Regions from separate parts of the Homo sapiens genome. Here region 2 is linked to region 1. Evidence: promoter capture Hi-C in 16 types of primary human blood cells and fetal thymus (Javierre and others, 2016). All regions are on one chromosome and are shown on one strand. Each heading gives the region's core, a stretch centred on a gene start or on the middle of the fragment in contact. The rest is flanking DNA. Distances are from core to core; before and after follow the strand shown. Region 1 holds the start of ZFAND4 (zinc finger AN1-type containing 4). Region 2 has its middle 19 kb from the start of ALOX5.

Evidence for each region. The method cuts DNA at HindIII sites, captures the fragments that hold promoters and counts their contacts. A CHiCAGO score of 5 or more calls a contact.
Region 2: a contact is called between a fragment that was not itself captured here and the fragment with the promoter of ZFAND4 in region 1, in 4 of 17 cell types (naive B cells, M1 macrophages, neutrophils and 1 more). The highest score is 8.0, in naive B cells.

The regions. Positions count from the first base shown.
Region 1 is chr10:45,669,980-45,675,654 of GRCh38, forward strand. It overlaps ZFAND4 (zinc finger AN1-type containing 4), which reads right to left and starts at 2,793. Exons shown (of 10, transcript NM_174890.4): 1 at 2,271-2,793. RefSeq lists a silencer at 2,376-3,095. The HindIII fragment of the contact is 4,202 bases long and covers 2,008-5,675 here.
Region 2 is chr10:45,352,597-45,358,271 of GRCh38, forward strand. No RefSeq gene overlaps it. Among named protein-coding and RNA genes, the nearest start is that of ALOX5, 19 kb to the right of the region's middle. The HindIII fragment of the contact is 2,048 bases long and covers 1,153-3,200 here.

The sequences.
Region 1 (5,675 bases), core at 1,543-4,042:
ATGCCCTCTCTCACCACTCCTATTTAACACAGTGTTGGAAGTTCTGGCCAGAGCAATCAGACAGGAGACAGAAATAAAGGATATTCAATTAGGAAAAGAGGAAGTCAAATTGTCCCTGTTTGCAGATGACATGATTATACATTTAGAAAACCCCATCGTCCCAACCCAAAATCTCCTTAAGCTGATAAACAACTTAAGCAAAGTCTCAGGGTACAAAATCAATGTGCAAAAATCACAACTATCTGATTTTTTTTTTTTTTTTTTGAGACGGAGTTTCACTTTTGTTGCCCAGGCTGGAGTGCAATGGTGTGATCTTGGCTCACCACAACCTCCGCCTCCCAGATTCAAGTGATTCTCCTGCCTCAGCCTCCCTAGTAGCTGGGATTACAGGCATGTGCCACCACGCCCGGCTAATTTTTTTGCATTTTTAGTAGAGATTTCTCCCAACAGGGGTTTCTCCATGTTCGTCAGGCTGGTCTCAAACTCTCAACCTCAGGTGATCCGCCTGCCTCGGCCTCCCAAAGTGCTGGGATTACAGGCGTAAGCCACTGTGCCCAGCCTACAACCATCTTTGACAAACCTGACAAAAACAAGACGTAGGGAAATGATTCCCTATTTAATAAATGGTGCTGGGAAAACTGGCTAGCCATATGTAGAAAGCTGAAACTGGATCCCTTCCTTACACCTTATACAAAAATTAATTCAAGATGGATTAAAGACTTAAATGTTAGACCTGAAACCATAAAAACCCTAGAAGAAAACCTAGGCAATACCATTCAGGACATAGGCATGAGCACGGACTTCATGACTAAAACACCAAAAGCAATGGCAACAAAAGCCAAAATAGACAAATGGGATCTAATTAAACTAAAGAGCTTCTGCACAGCAAAAGAAACTACCATCAGAGTGAACAGGCAACCTACAGAATGGGAAAAAAATTTTGCAATCTACCCATCTGACAGAGGGCTAATATCCAGAATCTACAAAGAACTTAGACAAATTTTCAAGAAAAAAACAACCGCATCAAAAAGTGGGCAAAGGATATGAACAGACAGTTCTCAAAAGAAGATATTTATGCAGCCAACAGACACATGAAAAAACACTCATCATCACTGGTCATCAGAAAAATGCAAATCAAAACCACAGTGAGATACCATCTCACACCAGTTAGAATGGCGATCATTAGAAAGTTAGGAAACAACAGATGCTGGAGAGGATGTGTAGAAATAGGAACACTTTTACACTGTTGGTGGGACTGTAAATTAGTTCAACCGTTGTGGAAAACAGTGTGGCAATTCCTCAAGGATCTAGAACTAGAAATACCATTTGACCCAGCGATCCCATTACTGGGTATATACCCAAAGGATTATAAATCATGCCACTATAAAGACACATGCACACGTATGTTTACTGTGGCACAATTCACAACAGCAAAGACTTGGAACCAACCCAAATGTCCATCAGTGATAGAGTGGATTAAGAATATGTGGCACATATACACCATGGAATACTATGCAGCCATAAAAAAAGGATGAGTTCATGTCCTTTGCATGGACATGGATGAAGCTGGAAACCATCATTCTCAGCAAACTGTCACAAGGACAGAAAACCAAACACCGCCATGTTCTCACTCATAGATGGGAACTCAACAATGAGAACACTTGGACACAGGGAGGGGAACATCACACACTGGGGCCTGTCGTGGGGAGTGAGATGGGGGGAGGGATAGCATTAAGAGAAATACGCAATATAAATGACGAGTTAGTCGGTGCAGAAAACCAACATGGCACATGTATAGCTATGTACCAAACCTGCACGTTGTGCACATGTACCCTAGAACTTAAAAAAAAAAAAAAAATCAATTCCCAAAGCATTTCTCTCATTTCTTCTGAAAAGTTTCTAAAAACACAACTCCAAGGATGAAATGGAAGTTAAAGGTAAACAGGCAATAGCGCTGAATACGTAATTTCAGTAACTCAGAATTTTCTCCAACCTCTGCTCTAAAGAAGCTTAGCTACAGAAGAGCAGTTACCTTTGAAACATTTTCCCCAACATAAAGATATCCGGAATGTGAAGCTGCCATTAAAACTGTGACACAGATCTACATTTACTGATACATCAAAACATCCCTAAAGTTCGAAATACGAGCTACAGAATCACATCAACCGCCTAACTTGTCTGTAGCCTAAACTCTAGTCCGGAGTTCATCTGCAAGCGGAATTGGGAAGTATTTCAGAGCCAGCATCTCCTCGCGCCATCCAGGTACCTACACACTTGAGGCCACCGAGTCACCTGCGCAGCCGTTGCTCCTCCAAGACCAATCCGGGCTCCCCAGACCCACCGGCCTGAATCTGGAGGACAGCAGTCCGCGTGACAACAGCGACTCGGAGATCAGCACCCGTCGGGAAAGCCGCGTACCCGTTGAAGCTGGCGTCACGCCCAAAGGAACAAACGCCAGAGCGTGTGTCCTGGGCAAAGGCGGCCCGCCGCTCCGGTCCCCGGGCAGCAGCGGCCGGCGTCAGGCCGCAAGGCGAGGGGCGGGGACAGGACTCTACCCGGCAGCCCAGCGCCGAGCGCCCGCGCCACTCCGGCCTTGCGCCATTCCGGCCCCACGACGGCCGGCGGCGGCAGCGCGGCTGGGCTCAGCGGCTCGCAGCCCGGGCGCCCCCCCTGCCGGCCGCTCGCTAGCTCAGCCTCACCCGCAGTCTTGTCCGCTGGCTCGCTCGCCCGCCTACAGGTCGACAGGGCCCAACGACCCGGCGAGCAACTTCACGGAAGGCACTGGCCGACAACGCTCCGCTGCCGCCGCGCCCCGCCCCTTTGTGACACCACCTACCAATCGCTGGACGGCGCTTTCGCTGCCCTCCAATCAGCGCGGGCGGGGGCAGGCCTGGCCCCCGGACGTGGGCGGTTGCCGGGGCGCCAGGGCCCTGGGGCCTTCTTGGCATTCGCTGGAGGTTGTGAGTTACGAGGCCCGGATGTTGATCTTTTATTACTAGCAACACTGGACCCCTGACTCGTGCCCACGCGGGCGTCTGGAGGGCAGCCGCATGGCCTGCTGGGAACGGCGGGGTTGAAGCCGGAGCCGCCCTCCGTGAGACCCACCGGGGATCCTCTTCCAGGCGCCTGATTTGCTGGAGATAGGCGATACAGGCAGACGCTGTCCAGTCGGTGGCCTCTCCAGAGTGAGGGGCGCTCCTGGTGCGTTTGGGCCGGCCTGTCCTAACAAATCTGCTTTAGGCTTCACCGTCCCCTAATGTTTCTGGCCTCAATTGCCTCATCTGGAAAATGGGGGCATTACCGTGCCTGCTTGAAGACAAAGGCGAAAACAGATAACTTTCTGTAGTCCTCATACAATTTACTGAGAACTGTAGGCCAGGCAATGGAGTAGGCACCCTGGGCTCAAATCCCAGCGTTGGGTAAGCCCAGCCACACCTCCTGCTCCAGTTTCCAAGCTGCTGAGCTGCGGTGTAAACAGTAACTGGCTTCAAGCCAACACCTGCCTTTCAACCTAACATGGGAGCCCACTGCCTCGTTCCGTTCCCCCTACCGATTTTCCAACTCCGTGAACCTCCTTCACTAAGTGGGTTACTCAGCTGACAAAGAATGTCATCTCACTCCCACTGCGGGTTCACTCATCCTCGACTTCTGGCTCAGAGGAGCCAGTCTAATATGAAACTAAACATCTAATCTGTGTCTCCTGTCCTCTCTCATTCTTCTGAGACCCTACCCACCAACTTATCTCCACAGTTCAACGAACTATTGAGCATACACTGGGGGAGTATGGTGAGGCACTGGGCATTGATTCACCAGTCTCGCCGTTGGTTCCTTCTGAAACTCCACATATGCTTAATGCTAAATAGATTGGAGACCTTTGAGGACAGAGCTATGATGGTAATCATCTTTGCATTCCTGAGCCTAGAATAGGGCCTGTGATGGAGACTTACTGAGTAAAAACCTTAGCGTTTCTCACCCTTGCCTGCCCACTTCATTCACACTGGAGAATTGACAGCATGGACCGTGGAGTCAGGCAGGTGTGTTTAAAGCCTTGCCTCCCAATACCAGAAGCTCCATTACCTGGCCAAGTCATTCATTCTTTACAACATCATCATCATTATCATCTGCCATTCTTCAAGTGCCAGATAGTTGATAAGGGTCTTTACGTATTCTCTCCCCATCACAATCCTGCAAAGTTGGTAGTGAAATCCCTCGTCTACAAAGGAGTAAACAAAAGCCAATTAAAGTAGAACAATTTACCTATAATCAAACAGCTCTATGTCGGAAAGCCATATTTAAACTAGGACACAATACAAAAATCCAACCTTGTTCCATTATTCCACATTGCTTCCAGATTTTAGCTTTATCTGTAAAATTAGTGTTACTACATTACCTATCTGATAGACCATGGAGACTGAATAAAATAGCATTAAAAGTTGTTACCATAGGAACTTTTTTTTAACGTAAGTTCTCTCTCCCTTTCAAGCCTCTCAAAATAGCAGCTTGCGTATTTTCTAAACCTGTTGTCTCCTGAATCCCCTGAAACCAATCCTACTGATTGATGAGTAGATTTAGTTGTTCCAAAAGAAAATCATCGTATTTAACAAATGCTGACTCTGACCGACATTGGGTACTACAGCAAGAAACTATGTGCACAAATAACCTACGGACAGAAGGAAGATGCATAAAATGAATAGGGGAAAGGAGTGGCCAACTAGCAAGTGCCCTCATCTGTCATCACGTCACTCTCACAGCAGACTTGGGCAAATGGTTGACCTGTGGGAGCTGAACAAAATCTTTGACTCTGGGTATGAGTAATTCCCTGTCTGATCTTACAGTGCCCAAGGAAGAAGTCAGTAGCTCCAGGATCGCTGAGACCAACCTGGGCGGCCTACAAGACTGCACCATGGTGACAGGCTGAATAGTCAGCAGCAAGACGACAGAGCACCAAAAAACACAGACTAGAATGGGGTCAGCCATCCAGGTGGCTAGTGGCTACTGCCTTTGACGATGCAGATAAAGAAAATTTTCATTCCTGCAGAGTTCTATGGGGCAGTGCTGCTCTAGAGGCTGACATTTCTATCCTCAGCACTTCCCCCGGCTATTACCTAGGTTCATTCTGCTGCTTCCACAAGGCAAGAATGGAACAGAATGCCTTAGAGCAATGGTCAGCGAACTGTTTATGTAAAGGGGCAGGGCCAGGCGCAGTGGCTCACGCCTGTTATCCCCGCACTTTGGGAGGCCGAGGCAGGTGGATCACGAGGTCAGGAGTTCAAGACCAACCTGGCCAACATGGTGAAACCCCAACTCTACTAAAAATACAAAAATTAGCTGGGTGTGATGGCAGGCGCCTGTAATCCCAGCTACTCGGGAGGCTGAGGCAGGAGCATCGCTTCAACCCAGGAAATAGAGGTTGCAGTGAGCCAAGATCACATGACTGCACTCCAGCCTGGGTGACAGAGCAAGACTCCGTCTCAAAAAAATAAATAAAAGGGGCAGATAGAAAACATCTGAGGCTCTGTGAGCCATCCGGTCTCGTCATAATTACTCAACTCTTACATTGGAGGTAGGGTGAAAGCAACAATAGAAAGTAAGTAAATCAATGAATGTGGTTGTGTTCCAATAAAACTTTATTAACAAGATCAGACAGTGGGGGGGGGGGGGTAGCATAGTTTGCC
Region 2 (5,675 bases), core at 927-3,426, 320 kb before region 1:
AAAAAGAAAGAAAGAGAGAAAGAGAAAGAAAGAAAGAAAGAAAGGAGAGACAGAACGAAGGAAAGAAGGAAGGAATTATTTCCCTTTTTCCCACCCACGCCTCACCACAAACCTTGTTGTGGGGATAACATGTAAAAGTGAACAAAACTGAGAAGATCACATCGCATATCACTCAGCCTCTAGTGGGAGACACAGGCAATAAACAGGAAAAGTTAAAAACAGTACTAGGTAGTGGTGAGTGCAATTAGCCTCCCGCAGCATAAAGGGAGGAGAATAACCAGTGGCTCTTTCATGCAGAGAATCAGGGTAGACCTCTGGGGAGAGACCCGCACTCAGACTGGGATGGAATTATTTATTTTATGCGTGTTCAGTTAGGAGTAGAGGTGCTCTGTCGTGATTATCTAATCTTGGGAGGAACAATGTCAGACGGGTTTCAAGATGAGTATGAGAATTGGTCTTCCTTCTGAAAAAACAAGAATTGAGTTCACACTAATCACAAATACATCAAGCCTATTTGAGTCTTGTGTGTGTCATGGATTGAAGTGTATCTTTCCACTTAGTCAAGAAGTTCCAATGAGAAGAATGCTCCTTAACTTCCTAAGTGCAACAGAGTAGTTGAACTGAGCCATGGATGGTAAATCTACTTAAGAAAGCACATGCCATGGAAAGATAGCATTGGCTGCCCTGCCTACTTCTGATGGCACAGCCTTGCAGGAAGGGAAAGAAGCCAAGAGGCAAAAGCCTGGTCTTGTTCTGAAAGGCACAAGGAGGTGGAAGATTAGGGGAAACTCACCCAAAAATGACTCAGCTCTGAACTCAGACTCAAGAAGCCACAATAAGCAACATGAATGGAACTGGAGGGAAATAAACCAGGCGTAGAAACACAAATGTTGCATATTCTTACTCATGTGGGAACTAAAAACATGCATTTCAAGGAGAATAGAATGATGGTTATCAGAGACTGGGAACAGTTGTGGGTGGGGGTGTTAAGAGAGGTTGCTTAATGGGTACAAACATATAGTTAGATAGAAGGTATAAGTTCTAATGTTTGACAGCAGAGTAGGAGAACTATAGTTAACAGTAATATATTGTATACTCCAAAATAGCTAGACAGGAAGATTTGAAATGTTCCCAACACATAGAAATGACAAAAGCTTGAGGTAATGGATACCCTAAATATCCTGACTTGATCATTACACAGTCTATGCGTGTAACGAAATACCATATGTACCCCATAAATATGTACAAATATTATGTATCAATAAAAATTTTTAAAAAGAAGCTGCAATCAACATTTCATCATTATCTTTTCAGCAGCATCCTTACAAAGTTACAGAGACATCTTAAGATGTATCCCTCTTCCTCTGAATCTTCCTGGGATAGAACAAATGAAAACTAAACAAGGAGTGGGCTGGGAGGAGCTGTCAACATCCATCCTAAGGAAAAGTCTGTTAGGGCTATGAGCTTCCTCTGTCCTAGAGTAGAGCTGGGAAAATAGAGTCTTGACAATTGATTTCTTATTCTTTCTTTCTCTAAATCCCCAATGAATATGTTTTTCTTTTTAGTGCTCAGTGGTAGACAGGGCTTAATTCTGTTTAGTTATGCAAACAGGCCAGAAGAAACTGAAATAGGCTATAAATGTTTGAAGCTGGCCAAAAGAAGATGTAGTCACACAAGATACCCTCTGGAGGAAAGTGACTGTCAGGAAAGTCACTTTCCTGACCAGCAAAAGGACCAGCACTATTTTGTCCTGCTGAAGAAGTACATTTGTCCTGCTGCTGTCATGGGGACAGTGGCTCCAGGGCTTCCTGTGGACATGCCACAAGTTCCACTCCATGAGTCAGGAGATCATGCGGTCAGCTGGGGGGAACTTAGGGTTGCTCTCTTGAGCTTAGCCTTATGCTGCGTGTCTGCTTTGCCAACCACAAAAACGATAGTTTCATAGCAAGTTGCAGGCTCCCTGGAAACTTAACCTACCTACTAGGATACATTTACAGCTGCTTTTCTCCTGGCATCAGGCTGGAGATCAAGAAATACATAAAACATAGTCCCTGCCCTCAGTTAGCTCAGAATATGGTGGGGGAATGGAGACAGAAGCAAATACTGGTGGGACAAGTGACGATGGGCCAAAATATGGGCTTAAACAAAGGTTGTGGGAGCTCAGAAAAGGAGCAACTCACTCTGCCTGAAAGAGTCATGGAGGGCTCCACGGAAAAAGCAACATTTGTGCAGGAGGAGATTAGAACACAGAGGAGAAGGATAGCAGCACTCCAGATGAAGGGAAGGAAATGTGCCAAGATTTCATGGGAATGAGAAGATGTAAACTGCTCAGGAAAAACCATGGTTGAAGCTCTTCACAGTGGCTGAAGCATGGTGTGATTGTCAGTTTTGCTTGTCAACTTGGTCAGGCTGTAGTACTCAACTATTCAACCAAGCACTGATCTAGGTATTGCTGTGAAGGTATTTTGTAGTCGCAATTAACCTCTACAATCAGTTGACTCTATTTAAAGGACATTATTCTGTACTATCTGAGTGGACCTGATCCACTTCATCCCAAAGGTAAATGATTCTCCAACAGTGTTCTCATCTACATCTAGGGCTTGGAAGATGAAGGTGAAGGAGAATATGGAAAAACAACAAGAAAAAAGTCAATCAATCAGAACTTCCAGCCCTGTGTTTGTTAGTTCACTTTATGTTCAACCAGTATGTCTCCACTTTTATCTGCTTCCTTGTAAGATTTCATCTGAAAAAGGGAATTCACTCTTCAGGTGTTGGAAATCAATTATGAGAGAAGCACTTACAGAATGACTATCTGAAGAGCTCTGCAGACATTCTCCAGAGTAAAACAACCATAACCGGTGAAAATTAAAAACAAACAAAATAAAAAAATGTTAGAGTATTGGAAATTGTTCTAAGGGCCGACAGCAAATGAAGAAATCCAAGAAAGCCTACCAATTTCAGTGAGAGGAGTGAGAGTCTATGGTGTTGAGTCTATGGTGTTTAAGTTCTGTTCATTTCCTCCCTCTCCTGCAATCAGTTCAGTGAAACAGAAACCCTGCTCCAGAGATGTGCAGCCAAAAAGACAGGGTGCCCTTTCCCCTCAGCTCCCAATCTAGGGCAGACTACCAGCATTTCCCAAGCCCATCTCTGGCTCTATGTTGCAGAAGTTCTATTCCAAGAAAGTTTGACTGAGAATCTGAAGCTTCCTTCTTCCACTCAGCCTCTACTATTAAGGCGTAAGTTCTATCCCCAGTGCCACGGGCCAAGAATACTGATGCTGAATGTCCTTGCTCCGCTACACTCATAGGGCAGAGATTCCATGGGAGGAGTGAAGTTTCCATTCCAGAAAAGGCAGAAAAACAGAAATTACTGCCCAATCCAGTACCCCACCCATAAAGAAGGAAAGACATCTGAGAAAAGCATGACACTGTCCCCAAAACCACCTGCAGAGTAGTGGCAGTAGAGGCAGTAGGGAGACTAGAGGACCTGCCTAGAGGGAGAAGTAGGCCATAAGAAGAAAAGTCTCTAGTTCTCCCTAAAGGGACAAACTTTATTTGCAACAGAACATGCGGAAGTTCAAGCCTAAGGGCACTGTCAAAAACAATGAATATTTTGGTGGTAAGCAATTAATAGGTTAATGGCAGCTTAGTGAGAGCAACAAACTAAACCATAAACCAGCTAGACATATACAATAAAAATCCAAGAAAGAGAGAGCCAAGAAGGGCCTTCCTGAGGTTAAAACAAACATCAAAGTCTTGTCTGAAAAACTGCTCCTGCAAAGGAAGCAAAATATATTTGGATCAGACTGTGGAGCAATTTATGCCCCTAAAAAGCTGTCAAAACCAAAAGAGCAATTATCTAGCAATTGCTGGAGGTTAACAGTTGGGTATGATACCAAAAGAGGCAAACAACTGAACAGATCAGAGAAAGAGGCAGTCAAAGAGAGCACTGCTAAATGCACTGTAATTCCAATTTGAGAGAAAATGTGCCCAGTGCTGTGACTCCCTCAGGAACAACATCAGAGGCCACAAATTATGGTGGAAATAGGCTTCACTATATAGTCTAGCCAGGCAATTAAACAAATAAACAATTAAACAACAGTAACATAGTGAGGGGGGCAGAAATGAGTATTGCAACTAGCTAGAACATATTTTTGAACAAAAAAATTATGAGTCAAGCAGAGATATGGAAAAGACAGAGCCATACACCAGAAAAAAGGTAAGCAAGAGAAACTGCCTTTGTGAGTGCCAAGATGTCAGACATAGCAGAAAAAAAACCTCAAAGTAATTATTATAAATATGTTCAAAAACTAAAAGAAAATGTGCTTAAAAAATAAAAGATGGTATGATAATTTCTTGTCAATTCAAAAATACCAATAATAGATTAAAAATATTTTTTCAAAAGTTAATTAACCAAATGGAAATTCTGGGGTTTAAAAGTAAAATAACAACAATAAGAACATTTTGCTAGAGGAAATGAACAATAGATTTGTACCAGAAGGAAAAATAATCAAATAAACAGGGATTTCATCAACACCAAACCTGTCTTACAAGAAATACTAAAGGGAGTTCAATCTGAAAGAAAGAACATTAACAAGCAACAGGAAATCATCTGAAGGTACAAAACTCACTGTACCTTCAGATGATAATAAGTCCTCAAAAAACACAGAATATTATAACACTGTAATTATGGTGTGTAAGCTACTTATATCATAAGTAGAAAGAGGAAAAGATGAACTGATTAAAAAACAATTACAACAGCTTTTCAAGACAGTATAATAAGATATATAAATAACAGAAAGCTTAAAAGCATATAAATAAAGTTAAAATGTAGAGGTTTTTTTAGTTTTCTTTTTGCTTGATTGTGTATTTATTTATGCAATCAGTGTTGTTTTCATCAGCATAAAATAATGGGTTATAAGATAGTATTTGCAAGCCTCATAGTAACCTCAAATTTAAAAACATACAATGTATACACAAAAAGTGAAGAGCAAGAAATTAAAACATACCACCAAAAAAAATACTTTCACTAAAAAGGAGACAGGAAGTAAGAAAAGATGGGAGAGAAGATCACAAAACAACCAGAAAATAAATAACAAAATGGCAAGCAAGTCCTTATTTGTCAATAATAATATTGAATGTAAATGGACTATACTCTCCAGTAAAAAGATACAGAGTGGTTGAATGGATTAAAAAAAAGGACCCAATGATCTGTTACCTACAAGAAATAAACTTCACTTATAACAATACACAGACTAAAAATAAAGTCATGGGAAATGATACTTCACGACAATGGAAACCAAAAAAGAACAGGAGTAGCTATACCTTTATCAGACTAAATAGATTTCAAGACAAAAATTGTTAAGAAAAACCAAATAAGGTCATTATATAATGATAAAGAGATCAGTTAAGCAAGAGGATGTAACAATTGTAAATATATATGCACTCAACATTGGAGCACCTAGATAAATAAAACAAATATTATTAGAGCTAAAGAAAGATAGACCCCCTCCCCCAAAACAATAATAGCTGTAGATTTCAATGCTCCACTTTCAGCATTGGACAGATCTTCCAGACAGAAAATCAGCAAGGAAACATCAGATGTAATCTGAACTATAGACCAAATGGGCCTAATAAGTATTTACAGAATATTTCATCCAAAGGTTACAGAAGACA